3 separate regions of the Homo sapiens genome follow, and all the other regions are linked to region 3. The links are contacts of gene promoters, found by promoter capture Hi-C in blood cells and fetal thymus (Javierre and others, 2016). All regions are on one chromosome and are shown on one strand. Each heading gives the region's core, a stretch centred on a gene start or on the middle of the fragment in contact. The rest is flanking DNA. Distances are from core to core; before and after follow the strand shown. Region 1 overlaps METTL9 (methyltransferase 9, His-X-His N1(pi)-histidine). Region 2 has its middle 34 kb from the start of METTL9. Region 3 holds the start of CDR2 (cerebellar degeneration related protein 2).

Region 1 (3,778 bases), core at 627-3,126, 770 kb after region 3:
TGTTTCCCACTATCCCAGCCTAACTATGGTCTAGGGACTCCAGCTGACTGAATTAAAAGATGGACTCGCTGGCCTCAGAGAACTTACATTCCAGAGTGAAAATAAAATCAGAAACCAAGGGAAACAAGTAATGTGACTATGATCTTGGCGAGGAGCTTCAGAGCCTTAAAGGAGCAGTCACCTTGCCCTTAAGGTGAAATACCAAGGACCAAGGAGAGAAAAAATCTGCAGGAACCCCTTTAACCCAATGGGCAGGACTCCTGGTTTCACCTCTCTCCAAACAACCAGCTTAGATAAAAAGCTACGCTAAGCTCGCAGCACTGGGTGGCTTGTCTGTATGCTCCTGTGTACTTTCAAGCAGGTGAGTTCTTTGTTTTTTTTGAGACGGAGTCTTGCTCTGTCGCCCAGGATGGAGTGCAGTGGTGTGATCTAGGCTCTCTGCAACCTCTGCCTGCCGGGTTCAAGTGATTCTCTCGCCTGAGCCTCCCAAGCAGCTGGGATTACAGGCACCTACCACCCCGCCTGGCTAATTTTTGTATTTTTAGTAGAGATGGGGTTTCACCATGTTGGCCAGGCTGGTCTTGATCTCCTGACCTCAGGTGATCTGCCTGCCTCGGCCTCGCAAAGTGCTAGGATTACAGGCGTGAGCCGCTGCGCCCAGCCGCAGGTGAGTTCTTTAAATGTGTGCTCCTTAAAGACTACAGAGACAAAGGTGCACAGGCAAGAACAAAGTACTATGCCCGTTAAATTCACACACTGACAGGACTACACGCCCACTCTACTGTGAGGCTGGACTCCTTGGCTGGAGCCTACCATGTCTGAAAAAGCATCTTATTAGCATCTGCCTTTAAAGCTCACTCAAATGTTGTTTCATCTAAATAAACAAGGGAATCTTTTAAATGACAAATTCTAATCAAATGAGAATGATTCCATTCAGTCATCTGCTGATGCCAAGTACAGAACAGGATGTGATATCTAAAAATTACAGTAAATAGCAATATTCTCCCTACTGGCAACACAACTGCAAAGATACTAATAATTGGCCAGGCAGTAAACAGCCAAATCAGGTGGCTGCCACGCGTTTTGAATGCATGTCTGACAGTATTCGCCAACCGAAGTTATTAAATATTAGGTCATACTGTCTTAAAAATTTCCTGGCTGGCTACGATGGCTCACACCTGTAATCCCAGCAATTTGGAGGCCCAGGTGGGCAGATCACTTGAAGTCAAGAGTTCAAGACCAGCCTGGCCAACATGGTGAAACCCCGTCTCTACTAAAAATACAAAAATTAGCCAGGCGTGGTGGCAGGAACCTATAATTCCAGCTACTTGGGAGGCTAAGGCAAAAGAATCACTTGAACCAGAGAGGCAGAGGTTGTAGTGAGCCCAGAGTGTGCCACTGCACTCCAGCCTGGGCGACAAAGCAAGACTGTCAAAAAAAAAAAAAAAATTTCTCATTAAGCCCATGAACTCCTCCTAATATTTATATATAACCTTGGTTGATGAATCACTCGTTCAAAGTAGGAATGCAATTTTCCTATAAAATTAGATTTGCTAATCAGACCAAATATGGTTAAAAGTTTTTCTGAAATTATTTTTGGAGTTTATCAACTAATCAAACATGTGATATACAACATATCCAAAATACAACATTCCCAAAATACAAAGGATTTAAGCACACTAGCAGAGTCAGAAAGTAATTTTAAAAACTGACTGATTTTAGATGATGTGGTATAATAAAAAATACATATTTGATCTTTGTCCCAGGTTCCTGATAGAGAGTTCCTAAAACCCTTCGGGAATCTCAGGGTAATAAGAGTATCTTTTGTATGCTAACAGGATGACTCCTGATAGGGGTGGGAGACCCAGACAGCTTCAGGATGGGGACCAGGATGTGGGTATAAGGTTCAAACTTTCAGCCCCACCTTCCAATCTCCAAGGATGAGAAAGGAGTTGAAGACTGAGTCTAATCATGCCTATGTAATGACACCCCTAAACTATGGGGTCCTGGGAGCTTTTAGTTTGCTGAATACATTGATATGATGGTTGGGTGGCTCATCAGAGGAAAGAGAAACTCTACACCACCTCCCACACCTCACCCTATGCACCTCTTCCACTTGGCCGTTCCCCAATTGTATCCTTTGTAATAAACCAGTAAACCTAAGTGGTTTATTATTATTATTATTATTATTTTGAGACGGAGTCTCGCTCTGTCGCTCAGGCTGGAGTGCAGTGGCGCAATCTCAGCTCACTGCAACCTCCGCCTCCACGGTTCAAGCGATTCTCCTGCCTCAGCCTCCCCAGTAGCTGGGATTACAGGCACGTGCCACCACGCCCAGCTAATTTTTTTGTATTTTTAGTAGAGACCAGGTTTCACCCTGTTAGCCGGGATGGTCTTGATCTCCTGACCTCGTGATCCACCCACCTCAGCCTCCCATAGTGCCGGGATTACAGGCGTGAGCCACCGCACCTGTGTTTTCCTAAGTTCTATGAGTCATTCTATTATAGGAAATTAGGGGGTGGGGTGGGGTAGGGTGAAGGTAGAGTTGTGGGAACTCCCAAATTTGTTCAAGGTGGACAAAAGCACTGGCAGCCTGGGAACCCAGGACTTCCAGCTGGCCTCTGAAGTGAGGGCAGTCTTGTGGGACTGAGCTCTTAACTCTGTAAAGCGTGACCCTAACTCCAGGTAGTTAATGTCAGAACAGGATTGAACAATTAAACACCCACTTGGTGATGGAAAATTAGAGAATGGCTGATGTCAGGAAAAAATGACAATACATGTAAGAATCTTTTTTCAACTTTAAGCCTTAAAAAAAGCATGCACAAACCAGATAAAGGCCAGAACTTCAAGCAGCTGTCTTATTCTCATCTAATTCACAAACTACAAAATCTTCAACAAGTATTGTGCACACAGCTACCTAACTTCAGTGTCTACACAGAGGCCTCACTAGAATGAGGGCAGTTTCCTATTCAGAAGGCAAGCCTAGGCCAGGAGCAGTGGCTCACGCCTGTAATCCCAGCACTTTGGGAGACTGAGGCAGGAGGACTGCTTGAGGCCAGGAGTTTGAGACCAGCCTGAACAACATGGCAAGACCCTGCCTCTACAAAAGATTTAGAAGCTACTCAGGAGGCCGAGGCAGGAGGATGTACTGAGGCCAGGAGTTTGAGGCTGCAGTGAGATATGATCAGGCCACTGCATTCCAACTTGGGTGACAGAGTAAGAACTTGTTTCTCAAAAAAAAAAAAAAAAAAAAAAAAAAAAAAAAAAAAAAAGAAGGCAAGCCTATTTTTACCACCCCTCAGACAACACAAGGTTTACCAGGAGGGGCATCATAAAGCAGCAGAAAATGTGTTGCCTTGAAACCAAAGCTGGGTGCAAAGCCCAACTCTATCATCCATTAACTCTGTGCTGGTGAGCAAGTCTCTTCTCTCTCTCACCCTCACTTTTCTGTATGTAAAGTGCGGATGATACCACCAACCTCCAAGAGTTCTATGTGGACTACTGGGGATAATATATTTGAAGTGCCTGGCACACAATAGAAGGCCAGTAGCTCTTCATATTTCCTTCCCCTTTCTCTCCAAGGCAAGGGCTGGTCAGAGGAGAAGTACAGTTCAAGGGAATGCCTAAAAACCAAACTGTAGGTCTAGGCATCCAGCCATTCTCAAAAGAAATGGGTAATCAAAGACCCAAGGCATTCAGGGCTACCAAAAACAATCAGAAAAGCTCCACTGCTCAGGATCTATGAACACAGAATCTTTTCTAAGTTGGCCAGACCAAC
Region 2 (3,790 bases), core at 707-3,206, 810 kb after region 3:
TGCTGGGCAAGTGGAGGCCAGAGAATGCTCCCCAGAGGAAATATTTGAGCTGAGTTCTAAAGGACAAGTAGGCATTAACTAGGAGGGTTCTGCCTAGAATCATGTGCAAAACCTCCGGCCACCACTACCTCCTCCTCTAAAAGCCACAGCTGGAGCCAGGCATGGTGGCTTATGCCTGTAATCCCAACATTGTGGGAGCCCAAGGCAGGCAGATTGCTTGAGCCTAGGACTTCAAGACCAGCATGATCAACATGGTGAAACCCCATCTCTACAAAACATACAAAAATTAGCTGGGTGTAGTGGCGCTCAGCTGCAGTCCCAGCTACGCAGGGGGCTGAGGTGGGAGGATTGCTTGAACCTGGGAGGCAGAGGTTGCAGTGAGCCGAGATCATGCCACTACACTCCAGCCTGGGTGACAGAGCAAAACCAGAAGAAGAAGAAGATAAAAGATAAAAGCCATAGCTGGGAATGTCCTTGGTGCTCTGAACTGGATGACATTTGTTAGGCATGGCCATCCCACAGACTCACTGCTCCTCAAGATCACCCTTCAGTTATCCAAGAACTGATGGTTACCTACCCATGCTCTGCTCTTCTGCTGCTACTTTCTGGGCTCTGAGATGACCACAGAGGCCAGGGTCAAATGCTGGGCCACTCACCACATACTGATGATGCTGTCAAAATGTGGTTACCCTTCTGCTCCACCTCAATTATCTGTGGAAAACCTAATTTAAGGGGTATATGGTGTTTTGTCTGCCCGCATTTCTTCCTGTAAGAAACACGCTTTCCCCTCTTCCCTAGTAAACTGTCTCAGTCCTTACGAGTTGGTGGAGCTGGACTGCCTCACTTCCATCCCCAAGGTCAGGTACATGCCCAGATCTGGTCAGAGGACTTCATGTGTCAAGGTACAACTACTGCCTCAGCCATGAGCACTTGACTCATACAGTGCCCATTAGCGTCCACCTGGGGACTTTTTCTGTGCTACTGGAACAAAAGTGCATGTTTCCTCACCATCTTGGGCTGTTAGCCCTATGTGAACATGGAGGTATCTTGCTGCCATGCGATGAAAAGCTTATACACAACGCAGAGGGTAAGTCAGAGAAACTAGTTAATGACATAATTTGAGATCCAAATCTGCCTGACTTTTCAGCTACAGAAGCCAATAAATTCCCTTTTTTTTCTTTTTTTCTTTTTTTTTGAGACAGAGTCTCACTGTCGCCCAGGCTGGAGTACAGTGGCGTGATCTTGGCTCACTGCAACTTCCACCTCCCGGGTTCAAGTGATTCTTCTGCCTCAGCCTCCAGAGTAGCTGGGACTACAGGCGTGCACTACCATGCCTGGCTAATTTTTTGTATTTATAGTACAGGCAGGGTTTCACCGTGTTGCCCGGGCTGGTTTAGAACTTCTGACCTTAGGTGATCCACCCGCCTCGGCCTCCCAAAATGCTGGGATTATAGGCATGAGCCACTGTTCCCAGCCCGAATTCCTTTTTTATTTAAGCTAACCTGCATTGAATTTCTGTCACTTGTAGCCAAAGTGGTTTGAATAATGCACCTTTCCAATTGGCACTTGTGCCCAAATTACCATAAACTGGCTGTCTCTGACCACTCTAGGGAAAGGATTCAGTGATTTCTAATTGACCACTACCAGTGAAGACATGGGAGGTTTGAAATAGCTGAGCCCAGATTCTGAGAACGACAGGACAAGGTCATGATTGTACTTTTGAACTTGATGTTGGAGGTGTTCACAAGCATGACGCCTCTCCTGGACTTTGTTTACTGATAGGAACCACAAGATAGACGAGACAGCAGAATTAGGCCAACAATGGGTGCAAGGTGCCAAAAAGGTAATAGAAACCCAAGTTCCACTTTGAAGCAGCATAAATCAGACATTTCTCAAACATTAAAAACGGAAGTGGCCTGATCAAGACCTTTAAACGGAGTAAAAAGCCACGAAGCCAAGGCCTTGAGCAGCTAGTCAGAGAATTATTGCAATATGTGCTCAGAGACACAGGGTTTCATGAAAAGCCCAGTCTCTGCCTGGCTGCAGCACCTCTGTGCTTTTTGTCCCAGCATTTGCTTAGCAGCAGAACCTCATTATCCTTCAGTGTTCTGTAGTTATAACAGATTCCAGCTTCAGGGGGAAAAAAATGGATTCCAGCTGCCAGGGGTTCTCTCTGGGAGATTTTCTATCTCTGAGACGAAATTGTCTTTTTCTCCCTTTTTTCATGGTGAGAGGGGCATGGAGTACACCTCTGATAATCTGCAGAGGCAAAGCCTTGCATGAGCATGCTGACAACCCTGCAGAGAGAAAGCCTTAGGCTGGAAGTTCAAGGGCAGCCAGGAGAATGAACATTTCGATGAATAAAGCAATTTGATAACTACCATGTTGTGGTCTAAGACCCACCACTTACAGGCTTACATGGTGATTACTGAAGCTGCAACTATTTTAATGGCTTCATCTACTTTAAAGTACTGGTGATTTTTCTACTACTTCATTTAATTGCTTGATGTTTCTTGGAAGAGTTCTTCGGTCTTTCTGCTAAAATGTTATCCCAAGCTAGGAGAGATGCCATGATTTCAGAGAATTTCTTTTCCTCTATAATATTATATATTTTCCTCTGGGTTATCAATGAACCTACTGACTACTTTGAGTATTATGCCTTTAGGATGTCTTCACCTCTCATTTCCTTAACATTTTTAAATGAATCTCTGATAGAAAAATGAATCTGAAGCCTTGCTTATGCTTTGATTCATTCAACAAATATTTATTGCACACTTACTGTTTTAGATGCCTGGGATACAGAGTAAATAAATCAACAATGATCCTTGCCTTCAACAAAGCTTACATTCTGGTGGAGGCAAAGAGATAATACATAAATAAATTTAATATCATCTTTTGTAATAATAACCATTACACCTCTGCTTATGAAAAAAATTGCATTCAATTTTTGCTCACAATCTTCTTTTTTTTTTTTTTTTTTTTGAGACAGAGTCTCACTCTGCCACCTAGGCTGGAGTGCAGTGGCATAATCATACTTCACTGCAACCTCTGCCTCCTGGGCTCAAGTGACCCTCCTGCATCAGCCCCACAAGTAGCTGGGACTACAGATGCATGCCACAATGCCCAGCTAATTTTTCTATTTTTTGTAGAGATGGGATTTTGCCATGTTTCCCAGGCTGGTCTTGAACTCCTAGGCTCAAATGATCTGCCTACCTCGGCCTCCCAAAGTGCTGGGATTACAGGCACTGAGCCACTATGCTCAACTAATCTTCTGTTCCCTTCCTTCCTTCCTTTTCCTTCCTTCCTTCCTCTCTCTCTCTTCCTTCCTTCCTCTCTCTCTTCCTTCCTTCCCTTCCTTCCCTTCCCCTCTTCCTTTCTCTCTCTCTCTTTTCTTTCTTTTTTCTGACAGAGTCTTGCTCTGTCACTCAGGCTGGAGTGCAGTGGCACAATCTTGGCTCACTGCAACCTCCACCTCCTGGGTTCAAGTGATTCTCTTACCTCAGCCTCCTGAGTAGTTGGTATTACAGGCACACACCACCACAGCCAGCTACTTTTTTTTTTTTGTATTTTTAGTAGAGACGGGGTCTTGCTATGATGCCCAGGCTGGTCTCAAACTCCTAGACTCAAGTGATCTGCCTGCCTCAGCCTTCTAAGGTGCTGGGATTACAGGCATGAGCCACTGCACCCAGCCTAATCTTCTATTCTCAAAAGAAGAAAGTATCCACCCGCAGGTAACAGAATTCTAAAATATTACTGTCTGGACCCTTTTACTTCATTTTCCTAGCTTATA
Region 3 (3,853 bases), core at 1,048-3,547:
TCCCATTTATTTATGTCAGTATGGACTCATGGATTCTTTCCTTTTTATTCAATGGGTTATAATCCATTACTATGATTATTTATTGTGATGCTCATAATTGGTCCTCAAGGGTACCTGCACTTCTACAGTATAGGTCACAAGAACACAGCCTTACATTTAAAATGAGCACAAAATACTTGCTTTCAGGGTCTCTCTGATTCAGATAGCTCTGTGAGCAAGGCAAACAATCATCTTTCCTGTAAACTGTTTGCTAAAAGGCTTCTCTGCTGGTACTGAGTATGGCGAGAACTCTAGGTTTTCTCACTCTAGGTCCCTTGTGCTTTCCACTCTATTCAGCAGTCTCCTTTAAGGACTGAAGGGTAAAACTTCAGGTAACAACTCCACAGTGGGAGGTCTTGTCCTTGGCAAGACTTCTCCAGAGTAGCCTACAGCCTATGTGTAAGGTAACCCTGGAGTCAAGTGCTGTTTGATACAGCATCAGCGTGAGGTTAGGTTATGCTGGTTTGAGCAAAGATGGGAGGCAGAGAGACACCCTGAATTTTATTACCCACAAGAATTATTCAGGATGAGTTTTTCCCCCCTTCCAAATTACCCAAGTCTTTTTTTATACAGAAAGACAAAAAAAGTAGCTTGAGTCTATAATTCCTTCCCTACAATTTCCCTTATTTTTAATGTGCAAGTAACTAAAAAAGCAAGATCACAGAAGGGTTTATAACAAAAAGCCAAAGTCCCCAGCCTCAAATCACTCCTCCTCTTAGGAAAACTTTTTTTTTTTGTTTGGTTTTTGAGACGCAGTTTTTGCCCAGGCTGGAGTGCAATGGCGCAATCTCGGCTCACTGCAACTTCCACCTCCCGGGTTTCAAGCAATTCTCCTGCCTCAGCCTTCCAAGTAGTTGGGATTACAGGCATGCGCCACCACGCCCAGCTAATTTTGTATTTTTAGTAGAGATGGGGTTTCTCCATGTTGGTCAGGCTGGCCTCGAACTCTCGACCTCAGGTGATCCGCCCGCCTCGGCCTCCCAAAATGCTGGGATTACAGGCGTGAGCCACCGTGTCCAGCCTCGGAAAACTCTTAATTGCTTCCCATTTTTAGTTCTGGCAGCTCTCTCCATATTTGTGGAAACTATTCATTGGATTATCAATGTAAGGTATTATCTGTCGACTCACTTCTAAAATAGATCAGGATTTAACACTCCTCTCCACCTCTTCCCTCTCTCTGAATTTCTAACAGTTTATTACCTCATGTTCTAGAGATAATCTTTCAATTGTATACTTAAACCTCGATTTTTTTTTGTTTCGTTGCTCAAAGTTAGTTAGATATTGGCCCTGTTGTCTTCCATCAGCTGCACCTTTACCTTTACGTCAAGGTTGAGAACATTGACCTTCAGGTCTGTCATCCTGCTTAAGAGTTTCCGTGCTTTGTCTGCAAGATGGTGCTTAAAGCTTTACCTAGGAGCAGTATTTGCTGGGTTATGTCGGTGGAGGACAGCGTGCTCTGCCTCGCTGGCTACTAAGTGCTGGAGCTGCAGCCTGTCCCCTCCAGGTGCAATGTCACGTCCCCAGATGCTTAACTTGTGGTCTAGGGGTACCTTTTAAAAATCGTTGCAACACTGCTTACAATTTTCGCCCTCCAAGTGGACAGCTTCGGGCATCCCTCACCGCCCCAGATTCTCAAGGGGGTCTGGTGCCCACCGTTTTATGTAGCGTGAGTTTAATTCCCAGGGCTCAGATGTCAAGGAGACAAGAGCTACCGCTCAGTGGGCGTTTTCTCAACCCAAACTCCCGATCGACCTCGAGTCTCCCCGCCGGACCCGGAGCAAATCTCAGAGTCAAGATGCGAGAAGGGGTGGCCGGGCGGCGGACCTCAGGCTTCCGGCACCCTTGCGCTTCCCGCCGGCACGAAGGACTCCCCTGGACAACCGCCCGCCTCTCAGAGGCCGGAGTCCTAGGCCCTCCGGCCTGCGTTGCCTGTCCACAGACGCGCCGGCCTCGGGACACCCACCACAGGGGTAAGACGCGCCTCTGCCAGCTCCCCAGCCCGAAACCCAGAACGCCCTCCTAGGAGCCTCACAGCGCAGATCAGGGGACGGGCTTTCGGCCGCACCCCTTCACTCTTTCCCCGCCTTCTTTGTTTATTCCGGACCCACCATTGGCTGCTTGCCCTCGATACCGGGCGAGCCGCCGGTCTTTGGAGAGAGGCGATTGGACGAAGTCCCTGCCGCTCGGCCAGCAGCCCGCTCGCGATTGGTTGAGGCGCCGCCGGGGGTTTGAATCGCATCCCCGGCCGGGGAGGGTTCTGCCAAAGTGCCACGTTGGGCCCGGCGGCGGCGTGAAGACTGGCGGCTGCGTGAGACTCCGGCTCCAGGCGTTCGCACCGTAATGCCCGGCCGTTGGGGCCGTCGGTAGGCGCGAGGCGAGTCGAGGCAGCCGGCCGGTCGGCGGCCGCCGGCGGGAACGGGGCTGAGGCGGCGCAGCGGAGTCTGGGCGGCGGCGCGTCCCGCCCGAGGGCGGCTCTGGCTGAGGGCGGAGGGGCCGGGGAAGAGCCCGGGGCAGCGGCTGAGGCGGGACGGCGGCGGGGGCCGCTGCCCCTAGAAGACCCAGCCGAGATGCTGGCGGAAAACCTGGTAGAGGAGTTTGAGATGAAGGAGGACGAGCCGTGGTACGACCACCAGGACCTCCAGCAAGGTGAGGGCGGGGGCGCCCCGCGGGCGGGCGGCGGCCTGGCCCGGGAGGCCCCCGCTGCGAAACTGTTAAAAAGTTGCTTTTTGTGGCGGCGGAGGATGCAGGTGCCGGGAAGGGCTCAGGCTCACCTGGCGGCTGGGCCGGCCGTGCCCGCGGATCCCGCCCGCAGGAAGCCTCGGCACGGGGCCCACGGCCTTGCTAATGCGCAGTTGAATATCAGCCCCGAGGCGCGTGGGGGCCAGGGACGAGCCAGGCACCGTTTTAAGCGCTTTCCGTGGATTAGCTAGTTTAATCCTCACTGCATTCCTCCGAGGCAGACCCGGGTGAGCCAGTGTGTCCCGCAGTAAGTGGCATAGCCCGAGAAGCCGCCCCGTCGCAGGCTGTCTAGCCCAGCGCCTTTCATGGCCAGCGTGGAGGGCCGGCTGCTGCAGGTGGTAGTTGTTTTGCGGCGTAGCGGGAGCTGTGCGCTCCGCACCGTAACTCCAGGAGACAGTAACTTTTTAAAAATTAATGTTTGAGGGTACATGGTAGGTGTATATATTTGTGGGGTACATGAGATGTTTGGATACAGGCACGCAGTGTGAAATAAGCACGTGATGGAGAACGGGGCGTCCATCCCAGCATTTATCCATTGAGGTACAAACAATCCAATTACACACTTTTGTTATCCCATTTTCCATATGAGGAAAGCGGAGATTAAAACGGTAAAGTGGCTTGCCTAAAGCTAAGTGTGGGAGGGAGTGTTTTTTGAACCCACACACTCAGAAGAAGAGTTGTAGTCACTGCTCAAACCCCATCTCTTCCTTACCATCCTAGTTTACAGTTTTTTTCAGTTGGGCGTTAAGCTGTTAGGCATAGTTCACCAGATGCCAATTGAAACGACAGAAGAAAGAGCGCATCTATCTCTGCCACTTTTCTTCAGTTTGCACGCCAGCTTTCACTTAGAAACAGGCCTGCCGATGGTGTCTCCAGAGAACAATCGTAGAGTAGCCCACTCTTTGGGGCCAGTGGGGCCCCTGTTTTTCTTATACTAATAGCAGGAGCTAGCAGTTGGGGAACACTTTTTATGTGCCTAACACTGATAGGCCCATAACACAGTTGCTCATTTAATTCTCCCAGTAACACAATAGAGGTAGTAATGTTGGGGAGTGCTAGGGTTCTCCTTAAGACT

Evidence for each region. Contacts are between HindIII fragments. The CHiCAGO score rates a contact against its expected background, and 5 or more counts as called.
Region 1: a contact is called between a fragment that was not itself captured here and the fragment with the promoter of CDR2 in region 3, in 4 of 17 cell types (neutrophils, non-activated CD4 T cells, naive CD8 T cells and 1 more). The highest score is 6.9, in neutrophils.
Region 2: a contact is called between a fragment that was not itself captured here and the fragment with the promoter of CDR2 in region 3, in 9 of 17 cell types (M0 macrophages, erythroblasts, M1 macrophages and 6 more). The highest score is 10.8, in M0 macrophages.

The regions. Positions count from the first base shown.
Region 1 is chr16:21,604,752-21,608,529 of GRCh38, reverse strand. All of the region lies in intron 1 of METTL9 (methyltransferase 9, His-X-His N1(pi)-histidine), which reads right to left. Among named protein-coding and RNA genes, the nearest start is that of METTL9, 7.1 kb to the right of the region's middle. The HindIII fragment of the contact is 4,521 bases long and covers 1-3,778 here.
Region 2 is chr16:21,564,133-21,567,922 of GRCh38, reverse strand. No RefSeq gene overlaps it. Among named protein-coding and RNA genes, the nearest start is that of METTL9, 34 kb to the left of the region's middle. The HindIII fragment of the contact is 1,772 bases long and covers 1,071-2,842 here.
Region 3 is chr16:22,373,063-22,376,915 of GRCh38, reverse strand. It overlaps CDR2 (cerebellar degeneration related protein 2), which reads left to right and starts at 2,297. Exons shown (of 5, transcript NM_001802.2): 1 at 2,297-2,685. The coding sequence starts at 2,607. It overlaps CDR2-DT (CDR2 divergent transcript), which reads right to left and starts at 2,029. Exons shown (of 3, transcript NR_148970.1): 1 at 1,693-2,029; 2 at 1,356-1,589. RefSeq lists enhancers at 1,525-1,574, 1,915-1,994 and a silencer at 2,535-2,764. The HindIII fragment of the contact is 4,746 bases long and covers 1,446-3,853 here.